Linked DNA regions of Homo sapiens: all the other regions are linked to region 1. Evidence: promoter capture Hi-C in 16 types of primary human blood cells and fetal thymus (Javierre and others, 2016). All regions are on one chromosome and are shown on one strand. Each heading gives the region's core, a stretch centred on a gene start or on the middle of the fragment in contact. The rest is flanking DNA. Distances are from core to core; before and after follow the strand shown.

Region 1 (4,134 bases), core at 1,574-4,073:
TTAAGAAAAGAGTTTTTACCATTGTGGAAGACAGTATGGCGATTCCTCAAGCATCTAAAATCAGAAATACCATTTGACCCAGCAATCCTATTACTGGGTATATACCCAAAGGAATAGAAATCATTCTACTATAAAGTCACATGCACCCGTATGTTTATTGCAGCACTATTTACAATAGCAAAATGGAACCAACTGAAATGCCCATCAATGAGACTAGATAAAGAAAATGTGATACATATACACCATGGAATACTATGCAGCCATGAAAAGGAATGAGATCATGTCCTTGGCAGGGACATGGATGAAGCTGGAAGCCATTATCCTCAGCAAACTAACACAGGAACAGAAAACCAAATGCCGCATGTTCTCACTCATAAGTGGGAGTTGAACAATGACAGCACATAGACATAGGGAGGGGAACATCACACGCCAGGGCCTGCTGCAGGGTGGGGGGTGGGGTGTGAGGGGAGGGAACTTAGAAGACAGGTGAGTAGGTGCAGCAGACCACCATGGCGCACTTATACCTATGTAACCAACCTGCACGTTCTACACATGTATCCTGGAACTTAAATTAAAAACAAAAAAGAGTTTTTAATCCAAAAAAGATTAACAGCAACTAGAAGAAAGAAAGAGATATAAACAGTGAATTGCAATGCAGCACGGCAGGTGTTATGATGGAGTAGAAAGGACTGGAAAAGGCCTCCTGGAGGAAGGGACACTCAAGTGTCTTTCCATTTCACCTGTAAACTCATTAAGGGCAAAAGCTTTGCTACAGCTTCAGTATGAGATCCTGGGCAATCCGTGACAAAATGGGTCTGCTTTTGCACCCCCAACTTCTTCTCACATCCCTGCATCGTGCCATGCAGCATCAACTGGAAACCTCAGCATCAGCAAACGACGACAGAGCGTTCATCCGTAAGGTGAACCAGAAAAGCCAGTTCAATGACTTGTTTAACCATGGTCCATCTCAGAACCAAGAGTTGGGCCTCTTATTTACCAGAAAAATTGTGGGGGCTTTGTGATATGGCTTTAAAAAAATCTTGTAATTGCCAGGCGTGGTGGCTCACACCTGTAATCCCAGCACTTTGGGAGGCCGAGGTGGGTGAATCGCCTAAGGTCAGGAGTTCGAGACCAGCCTGACCAACATGGTGAAACTCCGTCTCTACTAAAAATACAAAAACTAGCTGGATGTGGTGACGCGTGCCTGTAATCCTAGCTACTCAGGAGGCTGACGCAGGAGAATCACTTGAACCTGGGAGGCAGAGGTTGCAGTGAGCCAAGATTGTGCCATTGCGCTCCAAAAAAAAAAAAAAAAAGACATTAACATAAATTTAAATATTTTATAATGACAATCCACATTAACTACTTAAAGCATAAGCTATTTTCCAGGAGAGGCAGCAAGTGCATTCTACTCCCATGCCCAAGAAGAAAGGAGCGTGACTTTGGTGGGAGTACTAGGAGTTTCTACTGGAGCACTTGCCCGCAGAGTGAGAAACGTTCCTAGAGAGGAAGTTATACCTGCTGTGGAATTTAAGAGAATCTTGTCATATTTTGACAAGTTTTTTGAGATGGAAGTCTCACTCTGTCGCCCAGGCTGGAGTGCAGTGGCGCAATCTCAGCTCACTGCAGCCTGCACCTCCTCGGTTCCAGCTATTCTCTTGTCTCAGCCTCCTGAGTAACTGGGATTACAGGCGCCCGCCACTACGCCTGGCTAATTTTTGTATTTTTAGTAGAAATGGGGTTTTACCATGTTGGCCAGACTGGTCTCAAACTCCCGACCTCAGGTGATCTGCCTGCCTCAGCCTCCCAAAGTGCTGGAATTACAGGCGTGTGCCACTGCGCCTGGCTAATTTTTTTTTTTTTTTTTTTTTTTTTTTTTTTTTAGTAGAGACGGTGGTTTCACCATGTCATCCAGGCTGGTCTCAAACTCCTGACCTCAGGTGATCCACCCACCTTGGTCTACCAAAGTGCTCGGATTACAGGCATGAGCCACCAGGCCCAGTCAACGTGATGTGTTTTGGAACCCTGAATTCCTTGGCTTGCCCGGAGGGTTTTCTTTTTGTTAATATCTTTGCTTGCTTTCTAGTATTTAAAAAATTGTGTTTTGCTCTAACTATGCAATGGCTTTAAGTCTTAGACAAATTTCCAGGGAGCAAAACACACTCAACCATTTCATAATAATCAGAAGAGAGCTCTGATCAATAAATAAGCAAGACTGAATTTTACAAAATAATCCAAAGTTTAAAACCAAAGCCCACTTTTTGCATGATCCTTTAAGAGAAAGAAATCTGGAAGCAAAACACCTTATAAAATGACAATGCACTTTCAGGAGCCCAGGGCACTGTGGTGAAATGATGATGGCTAGTACAGGTTATAAGCCTTGGGGAATTATTTATGAATTCTCAGGATCCTTCAGTTCGCCGCATCCTTCTCCATTATTTGAATATTGGAGGCTGCCTGACCAGAATCTTGTCAGGACTTTGCTCCTTCATCCCAGGTGGTCCCGGCTGACTCCTGAGGACGTTACAGCCCTGAGGGGAGGACTCAGCTTATGAAGTGCTGGGTGAGACCACTGCCAAGAAGTGCTTGCTCACCCTACCTTCAACGGCAGGGGAATCTCCCTCTCCTTTTATGGGCGTAGCTGAAGAAAGGATTCATAAATGAAGTTCAATCCTTCTCATCAACCCCAGCCCACACCTCCAGCAATTGAACTTGAAAAAAAAAACCTGGTTTGAAAAATTACCGCAAACTATATTGTCATCAAAAAAAAAAAAAAAAAAAAACACTTCCTATATTTGAGATGAGAGAAGAGAGTGCTAGGCAGTTTCCTGGCTGAACACGCCAGCCCAATACTTAAAGAGAGCAACTCCTGACTCCGATAGAGACTGGATGGACCCACAAGGGTGACAGCCCAGGCGGACCGATCTTCCCATCCCACATCCTCCGGCGCGATGCCAAAAAGAGGCTGACGGCAACTGGGCCTTCTGCAGAGAAAGACCTCCGCTTCACTGCCCCGGCTGGTCCCAAGGGTCAGGAAGATGGATTCATACCTGCTGATGTGGGGACTGCTCACGTTCATCATGGTGCCTGGCTGCCAGGCAGGTAAGGGCCTGTGGGTGCCCCCGGAATTCCGGGAAGGCTGATGGGCATCCCTCTTCCCAGCCACAGAACCAGAGGGAGTCCCCAGGTAGATGGTTCCAAGAAGGGAGTTGAATCTTGGGTTCCACCTCTTGCCTGTGACCCACGGGGACCCCAGTTTATGCCTCACTGTTCCTTGGTCTGTCAAGAGAGCCTGAAATAGCATTAGGTTCTCCTGTCCTTCTCAGTCCTTGACAATTAATTCTGGGAAGAATAGTGTGGCATGATATTTGGGATATTTGGATGTTAACAGGGTCCCGATGAGCAGGTTTCTCAAGAAATTATCTTTTATTCTTCAATGAATTTCCTTTTATTCTCTGCACTCCCACCCCCCAACTAAGAAGCTATCAGGAAGCTCTTTAAGTTCAGGTTAATTTGCTGGAGACATGAGTACTCATATATCAAACACTGGGAGAATTTAAGATCTCAGAAAAGTTTAGCTTCAAGGATGTATACACTGCTTTTACGTCTTAGGAAATAACACCTAGGAATTTCCTTACAAGTGCAACTTTACAGAAATTTTTAAAAATATGCATACTCACTTTTAGAACATTACTACTTCTCATAATCCTATGTATATACATGATATGTATATGTATACGTGTTTATATATGCAAATTTTAAATTTCATTCCTTGTTTCAAATGGATTTTCTCGAAGATTTTTTTTTTTTGACACTGTCTCTGTCAGCCAGACTGGAGTGCAGTGGCGCGATATTGGCTTACTGCAACCTTCGCCTCCCAGGCTTAGCGATCCTCCCACCTCAGCCTCCTGAGTAGCTGGGACTACAGGCATACGCCACCACACCTGGTTAATTTATTTTTTTGTAGAGATGGGGTTTTTGCCATGTTGCCCAAGCTGGTCTTGAACTCCTGGGCTCAAGTGATCCACTCACCCTGGCCTCCCATACTGCTGGTACTACAGGCATGAACCACCGTGCCTGGCCAATATTTTTTTTTAAAGAAATAAAAAACCACCAACTTCTACCTCAAACCAC
Region 2 (3,930 bases), core at 1,283-3,782, 270 kb after region 1:
GAGTTTAGTAATTAATTTACATATATATTGGACCTTGCTAAAAATTTTATCTGATAAAAGATGAAATGCCCTTATACTTTACTAGCATGGTGGTGTTTAGTTATACTAAAAGCACTTAATAAAAAATATGTACATATTGTAATAAAAAATTAAATTTTGTTAACATTATGGCTATGTTTTTCCTTGCTTTTAGTTATACAAAAGATTTAAAATACCAGGATCACCACCCGAGTCAATGGGGAGAGGAAGAGACTGGAATGTTGACTTGATTCCCAAGTTCCTTATGGCTAATGGTAAAGAATTTCTAACTTAAATTTATGACAGTACTTTGATTACAATTTTAATATCAAAACTAACTTTTGACAGAGTACTATTCTGGGTATGAGGAACTGGATTTTGTTGAATGAAACAGCATGGTGAGTAACATGGTCCATTAGATGTCTGGAGTCAATAAGTTAGGAAAGGAAGGAAGGGGTTGTGACTTACTAGTAATTGGTTCTGGAGAAACAAATGATGCTGTGGCATAATACATAACAAGATTGTAAGCCTTTGGCACAGACTTACCTGTTGATGCTTATGACAGTCTTAAATAACTGGGCCTTTTGAAACAGCATTATTTTAATGTTTTTCTAGTTTGTAGGGTTTTAAAATTTTCACATTTTTTTAATTTTAGAGGATCTAAGTTTTCTTTTTCTTTTTTTTTTTTTGAGACGGAGTCTCGCTCTGTCACCCAGGCTGGAGTGCAGTGGCATGATCTTGGCTCACTACAACCTCCGCCTTCTGGTTCAAGCAATTCTCCTGCCTCAGCCTCCCAAGTAGCTGGGATTACAGGTGCGTGCCACCACGCCCAGCTAATTTTTGTATTTTTAGTACAGACAGGGTTTTACCATGTTGGCCAGGCTGGTCTTGAACTCCTGACATCAAGTGACCTGCTCGCCTCAGCCTCCCAAGTACTGTGATTACAGGCTAAGTATTTTTTTAAATTGCTGTAATATTAGTACTTTTTTCTGAGATGACATTGAAAAACTAAATTTTTGGTTATAGGTCTGTTTGTGCACATGAAATAAAGCATCTGCTATCCTTTTTCCTTGTTTGAGTTTATATTCTATTGTTTGTTTTTATTAATTTTTTTTAGAGACAGGGGTTTCACTCTGTCACCCAGGCTGGAGTGTAGTAATGCAATCATAGCTTACTGAAGCCTTGACTTCTAGGTTCAAGTGATCCTCTCACTTCAGTGTCCCACCACACCTGGGTGTTCCACCACACCTGGCTAATTTTTTTGTGTTATGGTAGAGATGAGGTCTCACTGTGTTGTGTGGGTTGGTCTTGGACTCTTGGGCTCAAACAATCCTCCCTCCTTGGCCTCCCAAAGTGCTGGGATTACAGGTGTGAGCCACCTGTGCCTGGCCAATAATACTATAATTCCAAACCTCATATCTCTAATAAATTTTTCATTGCTTTTGCAAAAGCAAGTTGATAGAATTATTAACCTTTAAGTTGTAACATTAAAAAAACCTATGTATTCAACCTTGAATAGGAAAAAAAGATAAAAAATAACAAAAACGTGTAATATGCAGTGCAATAAGTTTGCATTCTGGTTGTCCTATTTAAAATACAGCTTTGGAGGTTATTTTGGGCCAGGCGCGGTGCCTCGTGCCTATAATCCCAGCACTTGGGAGGCCAAGGTGGGTGGATTGTTTGAGCTTAGGAGTTTGAGACCAGCCTGGGCAACATGGCAAAACCCTGTCTCTACAAAACAATACAAAAAAAAATTAGCCAGGCATAGTAGTGCCAGGTACTCAGGAGCGTCAGGCTGGAAGCTTGCATGAGCCCAGGAGGCTGAGGTTGCAGTGAGCTCGTGATTGTGCCACTGCACTGTAGCCTGGGCAACAGAGGGAGACTGTGTCTCAAAAAAAAATTATTTTGTTGGAGTTATTGAACATCGTTAGAAAAAATTTTAGAAGCTGTTAGTATTAGTAAATGTTCTTTATAATTTATAGACTTAAGTTATAGTTTGAATTATGTGACTTTTCTAGGTCAGCTGGTTAAGATGCTGCTTTATACAGAGGTAACTCGCTATCTGGATTTTAAAGTGACTGAAGGGAGCTTTGTCTATAAGGGTGGAAAAATCTACAAGGTTCCTTCCACTGAAGCAGAAGCCCTGGCATCTAGTAAGTAGTTTTATTTTCTCTAGTAACTAGTTTTATTTTCTCAGAATAATGAGATTTTATACTGGAAAAGAGTCTTAGAGAGGACCCAGTCAACAAATATTTATTGAATGTCTATCATGTGCCAGACACTGTTCTAGGCAGTTGGGAACACATCAGTGAACAAAATGTTCAAAAATTCCTACCCGTTTGAAGCTTAGAGTTTAAATGATCATCTATAGATCATGTACCTTGTGGCTGGTGGATCTGAGCTTATCTAGGGTTAATAGTGTTCTTTTCACAGTAATTCATAATAGCTATGCTTTCTGTTGAGTATTTCCTGTGTCTAAAGGCTCTGTACTGAACACTCCATATTGTTTTCTTATTTGACTTCTGAAACATCTCTATGACATAGGGTCTCCATTTTATAGGTGATGAAACTCAGGCCTAAAATTGCATACGTAATAAGTAGCTGGGATAAGTAGCTGGGTTGGAAGTGAAATGCTGGTAGTGTGGCTCCAGAGCCCTGGTGCTTAATCATGTTACTAAGCTTACCCTACGCTATATTACCCAACGTGCCAACAGGAGAAGTACTCATTCTGATGATGCTCATCTTCTAATTGGTCTTGTTAGTAATTCCCAATATCTTTGATTTTAGGAACTCCTGGTGAGTTTTATATATATATATATATATATATATATATATATATATATATATATTTTTTTTTTTTTTTTTCTTTTAAAGACAGAGTCTCGCTCTGTCACCCAGGCTGGAGTGTGATGGCGCGATCTCAGAGGCTCACTGCAACCTCTACCTCCCAGGTTCAAGCGATTCTCCTGCCTCAGCCTCCTGAGTAGCTGGGACTATAGGCATGTACCAACACGCCCGGCTAATTTTTGTATTTTTAGTAGAGATGGTGTTTCACCATGTTGGCCAGGCTGGTCTTGAACTCCTGACCTCAGGTGTTTCACCTGCCTTGGCCTCCCAAAGTGCTGAGATTACAGGCATGAGCCACCGCGCCCAGCCTTGGAGTGATCTTATTCTCTGCCCAACATTATTTCCTCTGTTGCCTCACCAAAGAGTTCTGGTTAACATTTCCTATTTCAGCGTCTCTCTTAAATAGCAAACAGTCCAGAAAAGACCTTTTTGTTCTTCAAGATGTTTTAGTCCTTGTATGGAGCAGTTTGGAGAAGGATAAATTTGTATAACTAAGGGTAGGTGAGGGCTCTAGGAGCTTAGAAGAGGGAAAGTGCTCATAAGTTCTCTCATAATTATTTTGGCATCAGCGCTGAAAAGTTTTCTCATCTGTAAACCTAATTTGAATTATTTTGGCAGTTTCCTCTATTAACTTCTGATTAGGGGAGAAAATATTGGGTATAAAATATTAAAGACATAGCCAGAAAGTAAAAAATACTGCAAAGAATCAGGGCTAGGTTAGGACTGATAATTGGGGAAGGGAAGGAACAGTTTCTCATTCAGTTGCGGGTAGTTAGTAGTGTAATCATGGGTTCGAAATTATTTTAAATCTTTTAAATGACTATGAAAATTTAATCCAAATAAAGTATCTTCATAGAAGTAGGAGTTTGAGTTTGAATAGAATCCTTTTTAACAGTGGTGTGGTGTGGTGGCTCACGCTTGTGATCCCATTGCTTTGGGAAGCCGTGGTAGGAGGATTGATTTAGGCCAGGAGTTGAAGACCAGCCTGGGCAACATAGCAGGACCCTGTCTCTTCAAAAAATAAGAAAATTAGCCAGATGTGGTGGTACATTACTGTAGTCCCAG
Region 3 (4,242 bases), core at 6-2,505, 330 kb before region 1:
TGGAGTGCTGTGTGCCCTGTGAATGCACAAGCAGACTGCAGAGGCGCCAGGTGTCCTGTCTCTGGAGATCAGGCCACTACACTTACGACAACAAAGGCAGATGGGGGAGGACCCAGAGTGTGTCAAAGTCGTAATCACAAGGCCAGTGCTACACCCTGCTTATCACCAAAGATAAGGAATGAACGACATGACACCTTCACATATAAACTAATCAGAATTTAACATCATACATAAATGGCAGTAGCAGCTTCCTTTTCACATGTATTCTAAGAAATCATTTCCTCCTGCCTCTTCATGTATTAATTTAACATGCATTGATTATCTACCCCATGACAGTGTGCTAAGAAAGTTACAAGCATAAGTAAAGCTCAGACCCTACCATAGACCTAAGATTTTACAATCCAAGAGCAGGGCAGACCTGAACACAAGTATGCATGGTAAGATGCAATGTGTGATACAATTAAAAACACACTGTGATCGGCCTGGCGCAGTGGCTCACACCAGTAATCCCAGCACTTTGGGAGGCCAAGGAGGGTGGATCACGAGGTCAGGAGTTCAAGACCAGCGTGGCCAAGATGGTGAAATCCCATCTCTACTGAAAAAAATACAAAAAAATTAACCAGGTGTTGTCGGGGACGTCTGTAATCCCAGCTACACAGGAGGCTGATGCAGGAGAATCGCTTGAACCCAGGAGGCGGAGGTTGCAGTGAGCCGAGATGGAGCCACTGCACTCCAGCCTGGGTGACAGAGCGAGACTCAGTCTCAAAAAAAAAAAAAAAAAAAAAACACTGTGATCAAACTGTGGGACAATAAGGCACTCCCCCACAAAAGAACTTTCAGACCCCAGATTCTGTGAAATGTCTCTGAGACAGTTGACTAAAAACACACAGTTCCTCCTGCATTTTCAGATTAATGGATTGATATTCTGTGAAGGACCTCCTGTGTCAGGAGTCTGCAAACTACAGCCCATGTACACCAGTCCAGCCTACTGCCTGTTTTCATAAATAAAGTTTTATTGGAACACAGCCACGGTCATGCACTTAGGTATTGTCTGTGGCTGCTTTTACCATAGTGGCAGAGCTGGGTCGTTTAAAAGAGATCACATGTGAAAATATCTACTCTCAGGCCCTTCACAAAAGTGAAGGTGAAAAATATTCACTCTCAGGCCCTTCACAAAAAAAGCCAAACACTTTACTGAGAAAAACATATCCAATATATTTAACAGCAAAGGGTTCACATAAAGAAAACTATAAAATCAAATCAAAGCACCAAAAACAGGTTTGAAGTAAATGGAAGCATATTCTATGATGAAAAGACAATAACAATAACATATATATAGATACACATATACATATAAAAAAACTCTCCCAACAATTAACATACAAATTTAATGTCTTTCCAACTAGTGATACAGGAGTTAAGAAGAAATCACTAAGGCAGATAGTAAGGGTATGGGAGTCCTCGATAAGGTTCTCCTCTTTAAGGAAAAGCATCCCCAAATCCTTTTCTAACAAACAGCAGCCTTAAAGTCGAGCTGCAAACATAGACAAGCAAGCTGGGAGCTCGCTCAGGTGAGTGCTGGGCAGGAACTAGGGACTAGACATGTTCAAGATGGCGGCTCAATCTTTCCTTCTCTTTGTCAGCCACCGGTACAGTGAAGAGCAGGCAAGATGGCCCTGATCAACTGGAAAGCCCATTTGCATAACAAGACTGGTGGGGCAACCAGCCTTCCTTGTAGGCTATGTAAAAGTTGTAAGTAATCTAACCAATCTGTGAGGCCTACATAAATCAGACACCACCTCCTCAAACCGGGCTATAAAATCCGTTGCCACCCAGTCTTTTCCACTTGGAGACTCCTTTCTCTAAGTCGTTTCTCTTTCTCTTTTCTTCTGCCTATTAAACCTCAGCTCCTAAACTCCTTTTGTGTGTCTGTGTCCTAAATTTTCCTGGCGCGATGACGAACCCCAGGGTATATACCTCAGACAATGTAGCCGTTTCACTAATATCTCAATAAGGTTTAGGGGGTTTTTGTTGTTGATTTGTTTTCGTTTTGATTGCTTGCTTTATGCTTAAAATTAAATCATATTATCTTAACATTTATATTATGTGAAATAAATGCCCAAGTATAATCCAAAATTTTCTGGAAAAAAGAGAAAAGGGGAACTTGCTTTAGAAGTTATGAAAAACACTTTTAAGGCACTGTAATAAAATTAACATAATGTTAACGAGGTAATTAACATAATATTGACAAGGTACAGAATCCAAAGGCGATATTTTAATTTCGTGGGGGGAAAGGATGGATTATTGAATGCTATTAGAAAACCTTTAGGTAAAGATGGTGGATTTAACATGTGCATCTATTTTCACTTCTTCCTCAAAAACAAAATGCACTAAAACAATAGCAAAATAACTTTTTTTTTAGCATAAGCCCTCAAAGATAGGGGAGCTGGAAGGATCTACAACTGTAACAACATTTTAAGGAGAGAAACCAGATAAGGAGTAGAAAAAAGACCAAGCCGGAAGTAGAGAGAAATCCTAGGACCAAACTGAGGCAGGCTTTCCCAGAAGCTCAGAAATTCTGTACATCTAGATAAACGTGGGAATAAAAGAAGGGCTAAAATAAAGACAGTTTGTTGAAAGTTTGTTTAAGAAACAGGGCCACATGTCCTCTTCCCCGTTTCAGCAACTAAGCTCCTAGTTCTTCCTACTTTTGCAAAAGACAGTAGGTTTATAGTCAGAGGAGGGTACAACAGAGAGGGTCTCTGGTATGAGGGACACTAAAAGGATGAAGGAAAGGGATTAAATGTATATATGCTGAGATGCCCTCCCCAGCATGCAGAGTCAGGCTTTCAACCCAGGTGAGCTCTCAGTTGAGTTTTCTGTGGGACATGATCAGGCTGAGAGGACAAGAGAGCAGCCCAGCCAAGGAAGTTCTCAAGCTCAATGGTGTAGCCAATTAGTCCTTCTCTAAAGTACACAGTTAACACACTCCACTCACATGCACACAGGTCTATCTGCCTCATAGTCCTGTAACCACCCACTGGGGGTCACCTTGCCCACTGCCTAGATGGAGCTAATTTACCAAGACAGGGGAATTGCAATGGAGAAAGAGTAGTTCACACAGAGCCAGCTGTGCAGGAGACTGGAGTTTTATTATTACTCAAACTAGCCTGCCTGAGCATTCAGGGGTCAGAGTTTTTAAGGATAATTTGGTGGGTGAGGGAAGGCTAGTGAGTCAAGAGTGCTGATTGGTTAGGTCAGAGATGAAATCATAGGGAGTTGAAGCTGTCCTCTTGCGCTGGGTCAGTTCCTGGGTAGGGGCCACAGGATCAGATGAGCCAGTTTATCGATCTGGGTGGTGCCAGCTGATCCATCAAGTGCAGGGTCTGCAAAATATCTCAAGCCCTGATCTTAGGAGCAGTTTAGGGGGGGTCAGAATCTTGTAATCTCCAGCTGCATGACTCCTAAACTGTAATTTCTAATCCTGTGGCTAATTTCTTAGTTCTACAAAGGCAGTCTAGATCCTAGACAAGAAGGAGGTTTGTTTTGGGAAAAGGCTGTTATTATCTTTGTTTTAAACTATAAACTAAGTTCCTCCCAAAGTTAGTTCAGCCCATGCCCAAGAATGAATGAGGACAGTTTGGAGGTTAGAAGCAAGATGGAGTCAGTCAGGTCAGATCTCTTTCACTGTCTTGGTCATAATTTTGCAATGGCAGTTTCAGTTCCCCACTCTAAAATATTAGGAAACAATCACGGATTACAAGATAACTGAAGAAAATCTCTAATAAGGAAGATAAAAGCCAATACAAATAAATAAGGGGGCAGGCAATTTAGAGAAAACAAGCCTATGCATGAAGGGGAAAAAAAAGACTTTCTAAAGAGAAGCTATCACTAACAGCTTTAGAGAGACAAAAGAAGAAACAAGAACAGGTACTATGTAAACGTAACTCAAAGAACAAAATTCTTAAAAATTAAAAATATGATTTCAGACATAAAAAGCAATGGAAGGATTAGAACATAAAATTGAGGAAATATTCTATAAAACAGAGTAAATAAAATAAACAGAGGAAATAATAGGAAAGAAAAGACTGAAAAATTACAGAACCTGTCCTGTGGGTTGAATACCTGTGTAATAAGAGTACAGAAAGCAACAACCGAGAAAATAGATGAGAGAGAACCATCAGTGAAATAAGCCCAAGAAATGCATCAGAATTAAAGGGCATGAATTTAAAGATTAAAAGG
Region 4 (4,338 bases), core at 34-2,533, 300 kb before region 1:
ATGACCATGCTGGTTCAATGGACTGTCACAGGGAATTGGGGTCACGAGTTTCCCAAGATAGCTACCTGCAGATAAGCCAGTTTTCCTTAGAAGGAGGTGTTAGTAAGACAGGCAATAATTCTCATCCTTCCACGGCCATTAACTGGTTGGGGTATTTGAAACAAATCACTTAATCCCCCAGCTTGACCTTTTTCAACTGTAAAGGGAAGCGTTCAACATCTCCAAAGCTTCTTTCTTCTAGTACTAATGTCTGGTCATATATACTACACAATACAGAATACAATGGCAAAATATAAAGAAACCAGCTATACCTACTGGGGATACAGGGATTGCTATGTACCCAAGACTTGAAAACAGCAAAGGTCTAGAGCAATGAGTATTTTCAGGAGCACCTGAAAAAAATCTGGGTTTCAATGGCAGGACTGTCTCAGGGTCTTTGAATTGCTTGGACTATATACCTCTTGGACAAGATGGCTTTTATTCAACAGGGTTGGTGATTACCATAGCTATGAAAATGATGATGACAATTTAGGAGCCACAGCTGCTCAATCCTGCACCCTTCTCTTCTCCCTTATTGCCCACCTTCTCTTACAGGACCCCTATACCATCCCTGCCTATAGTAAGAGCTCAGTGGCCAGTGTGCCACTTCTAACAAGTTACTTCTTTTCATCTTTGAGTGTCCTAACACCTCATTCTCCCATTTGTAATCACTGATTGAGAGAGTTTAGATGTTGTCCCCCACCAAATCTCATGTCAAAATGTAATCCCCAGTGGTGAAGGTGGGGCCTGGTGGGAGGTGATTGGATCATGGGGGTAGATTTCTCACGAATGGTCTAGCACCATCCTCTTGGTGCTGTTCTCATGACAGTGAGTTCTCGAAAGATGTGGTTGTTAAAAGTGTGTGGCGCCTTCCCCCTCTCTCTTCCACGTGCTTTCTCCATGTGGTGTGCCTGCTTCCCTTTGCCTTCTGCCATGATTGTAGCTTCCTGAGGCCTCCCCAGAAGCCAAGTAGATGCTGGCGCTGGTGCAGGCTGTACAGGAAGCATAGCTTGCAGAACCGTAAGCCAATTAAATTCCTTTTTTTATAAATTACCCGGTCCCAGGTATTTCTTTATAGCAATGTGAGAATGCACTAACACACTGATCAAAACTAAAATCTGAAACATCATTTATGTTTTAGGGTGAATGTAAATCAGTGTGTAACCCCTCCTAAGGCATTTGCATTTAGCCCATGTATGAAAAGGGAGGTGTTCATTTTAGACAAGTTGTAGGGGGGTATCAAAGAATTATTTCTCTCTCTTATTTAACTTCCATTTTTCTATGAGATGGGTCTTTTTCGGTGCATCGCTGCAGAGACTGATAAGTAACCCCTCACTCTGTGATATACATATAAGAAGCACATAATGCATTGGCAGAGATAGCACTCAAGAAAGAAGGAATTAAATCAGCCTTGTGCACTCCACATTGCACCTTATGCAGAGGGAGAAGGGCACCAGAAATGCCATGGGAAATTAGGCCTCATTGACATGATAAAAGAAAAACCTCAGCAGAATTAAATTTAAAGGAGTTCAATTGAGGAATGAATGATTCGCGAATTGGGCAGCCCCCAGAATCACAGCAGATTCACAGAGACTCCAGGGGTGCCTCATGGTCAAAACAAATTTATAGACAAAAGAAGTAAAGCGATGTACAGGAATCAGAAGCGAGGTACAGAAACAGTGAGATTGGTTATAGCTCGGCGTTTGCCTTATTTGAACACAGTTTGAACATTCAGCAGTCTATGAGTGGTTGAAGCATGGCCACTAGGATTGGCCAACACTCAGCCATTGTTACAGGTGCATACTATTAAGCTAGGTTTTCCATTTTTTCTGACTGTTAAGCTAGGTTGCAGTTCATCCATGAGGACTCAAATATAGAAGTATGGAGTCCTTCTCCGGCCATATTTAGTTTGCTTTAACAGGCATATAGATTGTTTTGAGCTAAAACAACCACATTGATTGCAGGACAAGGCCTTTACCTCTTCCCTTACTCCCTAAAACTGGAGTATATAAATTTCCCCTCCTGTAAAGGAAATTTACTTTTATAATGGAAATCTCCACTTGTAAAGACGTCCCCATACCACGAAGAGAGCTACTCTCCAAGACAACAACTCTCATCACCTGACTTACCTGCATAACAAGGCAAACTTATTTACCCTACGTCTCCTCCCCTCCCCTTCTCATAACTTGCCTCCCCACTCAGAAGCCCAAGACCCCTTTTTACTGTGTTTAGTCTAAGATGATACATAAGCCTCAATCAACTGGCCGCCTCCTTGAGCCATGTGTTTCCTTGTAAGCTTTTGTACATGCCTACATAATTTAAATTGTTTTTTTTTCCTCTTGTTAATCTGCCTTTTATCAGTTTGATTCTTGGGCCCAAGTCATTGAACCTAGGAGGGTGGAATGGGAAATATTTGTTCTCCCCTGCCAGGGCTGCAATGTCTTCATGTTAGGAATGTGTCAACAGAAGAGAGATAATAGAGATAGAATCAGAAAAATAAACATCCAAAGCTGTTCAGGATAGAACAGCATGGGATCTCGGGGAGAAATTTTTACCAATCACTGAAGGAAGGCATTGGCTGGGCTCCCACTGTGGCCTAAAAAAGCACCCCTGGAGAACACCGCTTTGGCTTTGTTCTGGTTCCACGGTCAGCCAAATAATGACCAGCTGACCAATGAGTGTGAAATAAATGACTACTGTTAAAAGCCTCTGAGATTTCAGTTATTTGTTGTATAACATAATTATAGCCAAAACCTAACCCAACTTTTAAAATTAGACTTTCCTCCAAAACTTCACAGCATCTTAAGGATGTCAAGCACACACACAAGATGCAATGCAGTCATCCCTCATCAGGAAAACACTGACTGCAAGCTATTTGTGGATCATGCACACACTGAGGGCATCGGAAGCATCTCAGCAGAAACTGTCAAGTGGCCTCCACTTCACAGACTCACAGATTAATGACAGCTCTCCATGGCCTCTGTAAAACAGACTCAGTCGTGCCTGGAGCATACTGGCAGTTCACTGCCAGGAAGCTTATCTTCAGAGGCACACACTGGGCTGCTGTCTCTACTAGAGTCAATGACAGTGGTTCTCAAACCTATGCAGGCTCTTTTAGCAAAACATTCCACGATGAATGAAATATGAACACAAAAGAGAGTTGTTTCCAAAAAAACTAAGTTGAGTGCTTTGAAACGACCCAGTTAGGCAAAGTGTTATACATATATATATATGTGTGTATATATATATATGTGTGTGTGTATGTGTGTGTATATATATATATACACACACACACATATATGTATATATTCAGAAAACAATTGGCAGCTTCTTTTTTTTTTTGAATGATGGTAAAATACATATAACATAAAATTTACCATCTGTTATGGACTGAATGTTTGTGTCTTTCCAAAATCCCTATGTAGAAGCCTAACCCCAGAGTGGCTGTATTTGAAGCTGCAACCTCTAAGGAAGTAATTAAGGTTCAATGAGGCCCTAAGGGTGGGGCCCTGATCCAATAGGATTAGTGTCCTTATGAGAAGTGACATCTGAGAGTGCTCCCCGACTCCACCCTGCCATGTGAGAACAGAGAAAATGCACTACCTTCAAGCCAAAAAGAGAGGCCTCACCTGAAATTGACTTGACCAGCACCTCGATGTGTCACTTCTAGCCTCCAGAACTGTGAGAAAATAAATGTCTGTTGTTTAGGCCACCCAGTCTGTGCTATTTTGTTATGGCAGTCAGAGCTGACTAAGACACCATTTTAACCATGTTTAAGTATGCAGTTCAGGGTATTAAGTACGTTACCATTGGTGTGCAAAATTGACTTTTTAATGCTGTTTAACTAGAGGTAAATAAGACCATTGTAAAAGATGGGGGATGAAATCATAAAAGCCTAAACCTCTGCATTTGGATTGCTTTTCAAGCACCTTTAAATTCTCACTCCTTTATAAGGAACCCAAACTGGAAAAGGAAATAAATATTCTGACAGTACTCTATGAAGAAAGTCTGAAGAACTTCTATTAGAGAAACCACACTCAAAAAGTCTTCCACCAAAGGGTCAATAAATGAATGTTCTTATGTTTTAAGTGAGAACGTTTTACTCTGTTGGTTTTATTTATTTTTTTATTTCCTTCTTTGACTGACTGACTCTTTTGATTAATCAGCTGATTGCTGGTGTCTACCATGTTAGATAAGGGAGCTTGTGCAAGTTCCATTCCACCTGGCTGGGTCTTAAAGGATGAATGGACTTCCACCAGGCAAGGAGAATGAGAACAAAAATCTGGGTGGAGGAAACAG

Evidence for each region. The method cuts DNA at HindIII sites, captures the fragments that hold promoters and counts their contacts. A CHiCAGO score of 5 or more calls a contact.
Region 2: a contact is called between a fragment that was not itself captured here and the fragment with the promoter of IL2RA in region 1, in 1 of 17 cell types (total B cells). The highest score is 5.0, in total B cells.
Region 3: a contact is called between a fragment that was not itself captured here and the fragment with the promoter of IL2RA in region 1, in 6 of 17 cell types (activated CD4 T cells, total B cells, non-activated CD4 T cells and 3 more). The highest score is 8.8, in activated CD4 T cells.
Region 4: a fragment that was not itself captured here is called in contact with the fragment with the promoter of IL2RA in region 1 in 5 of 17 cell types (total B cells, endothelial precursors, activated CD4 T cells and 2 more); the score reaches 6.2 in total B cells.

Annotation. Positions count from the first base shown.
Region 1 is chr10:6,061,056-6,065,189 of GRCh38, reverse strand. IL2RA (interleukin 2 receptor subunit alpha) reads left to right here and starts at 2,823. Exons shown (of 8, transcript NM_000417.3): 1 at 2,823-3,102. The coding sequence starts at 3,039. RefSeq lists a cis regulatory region at 2,440-3,070 and an enhancer at 3,063-3,112. The HindIII fragment of the contact is 7,385 bases long and covers 767-4,134 here.
Region 2 is chr10:5,793,126-5,797,055 of GRCh38, reverse strand. It overlaps GDI2 (GDP dissociation inhibitor 2), which reads left to right. Exons shown (of 11, transcript NM_001494.4): 3 at 194-293; 4 at 2,037-2,171. Among named protein-coding and RNA genes, the nearest start is that of GDI2, 18 kb to the left of the region's middle. The HindIII fragment of the contact is 334 bases long and covers 2,366-2,699 here.
Region 3 is chr10:6,390,112-6,394,353 of GRCh38, reverse strand. It overlaps a transcript of PRKCQ not described here. Among named protein-coding and RNA genes, the nearest start is that of LINC02656, 42 kb to the right of the region's middle. The HindIII fragment of the contact is 7,289 bases long and covers 1-4,242 here.
Region 4 is chr10:6,363,742-6,368,079 of GRCh38, reverse strand. No RefSeq gene overlaps it. Among named protein-coding and RNA genes, the nearest start is that of LINC02656, 16 kb to the right of the region's middle. The HindIII fragment of the contact is 2,108 bases long and covers 230-2,337 here.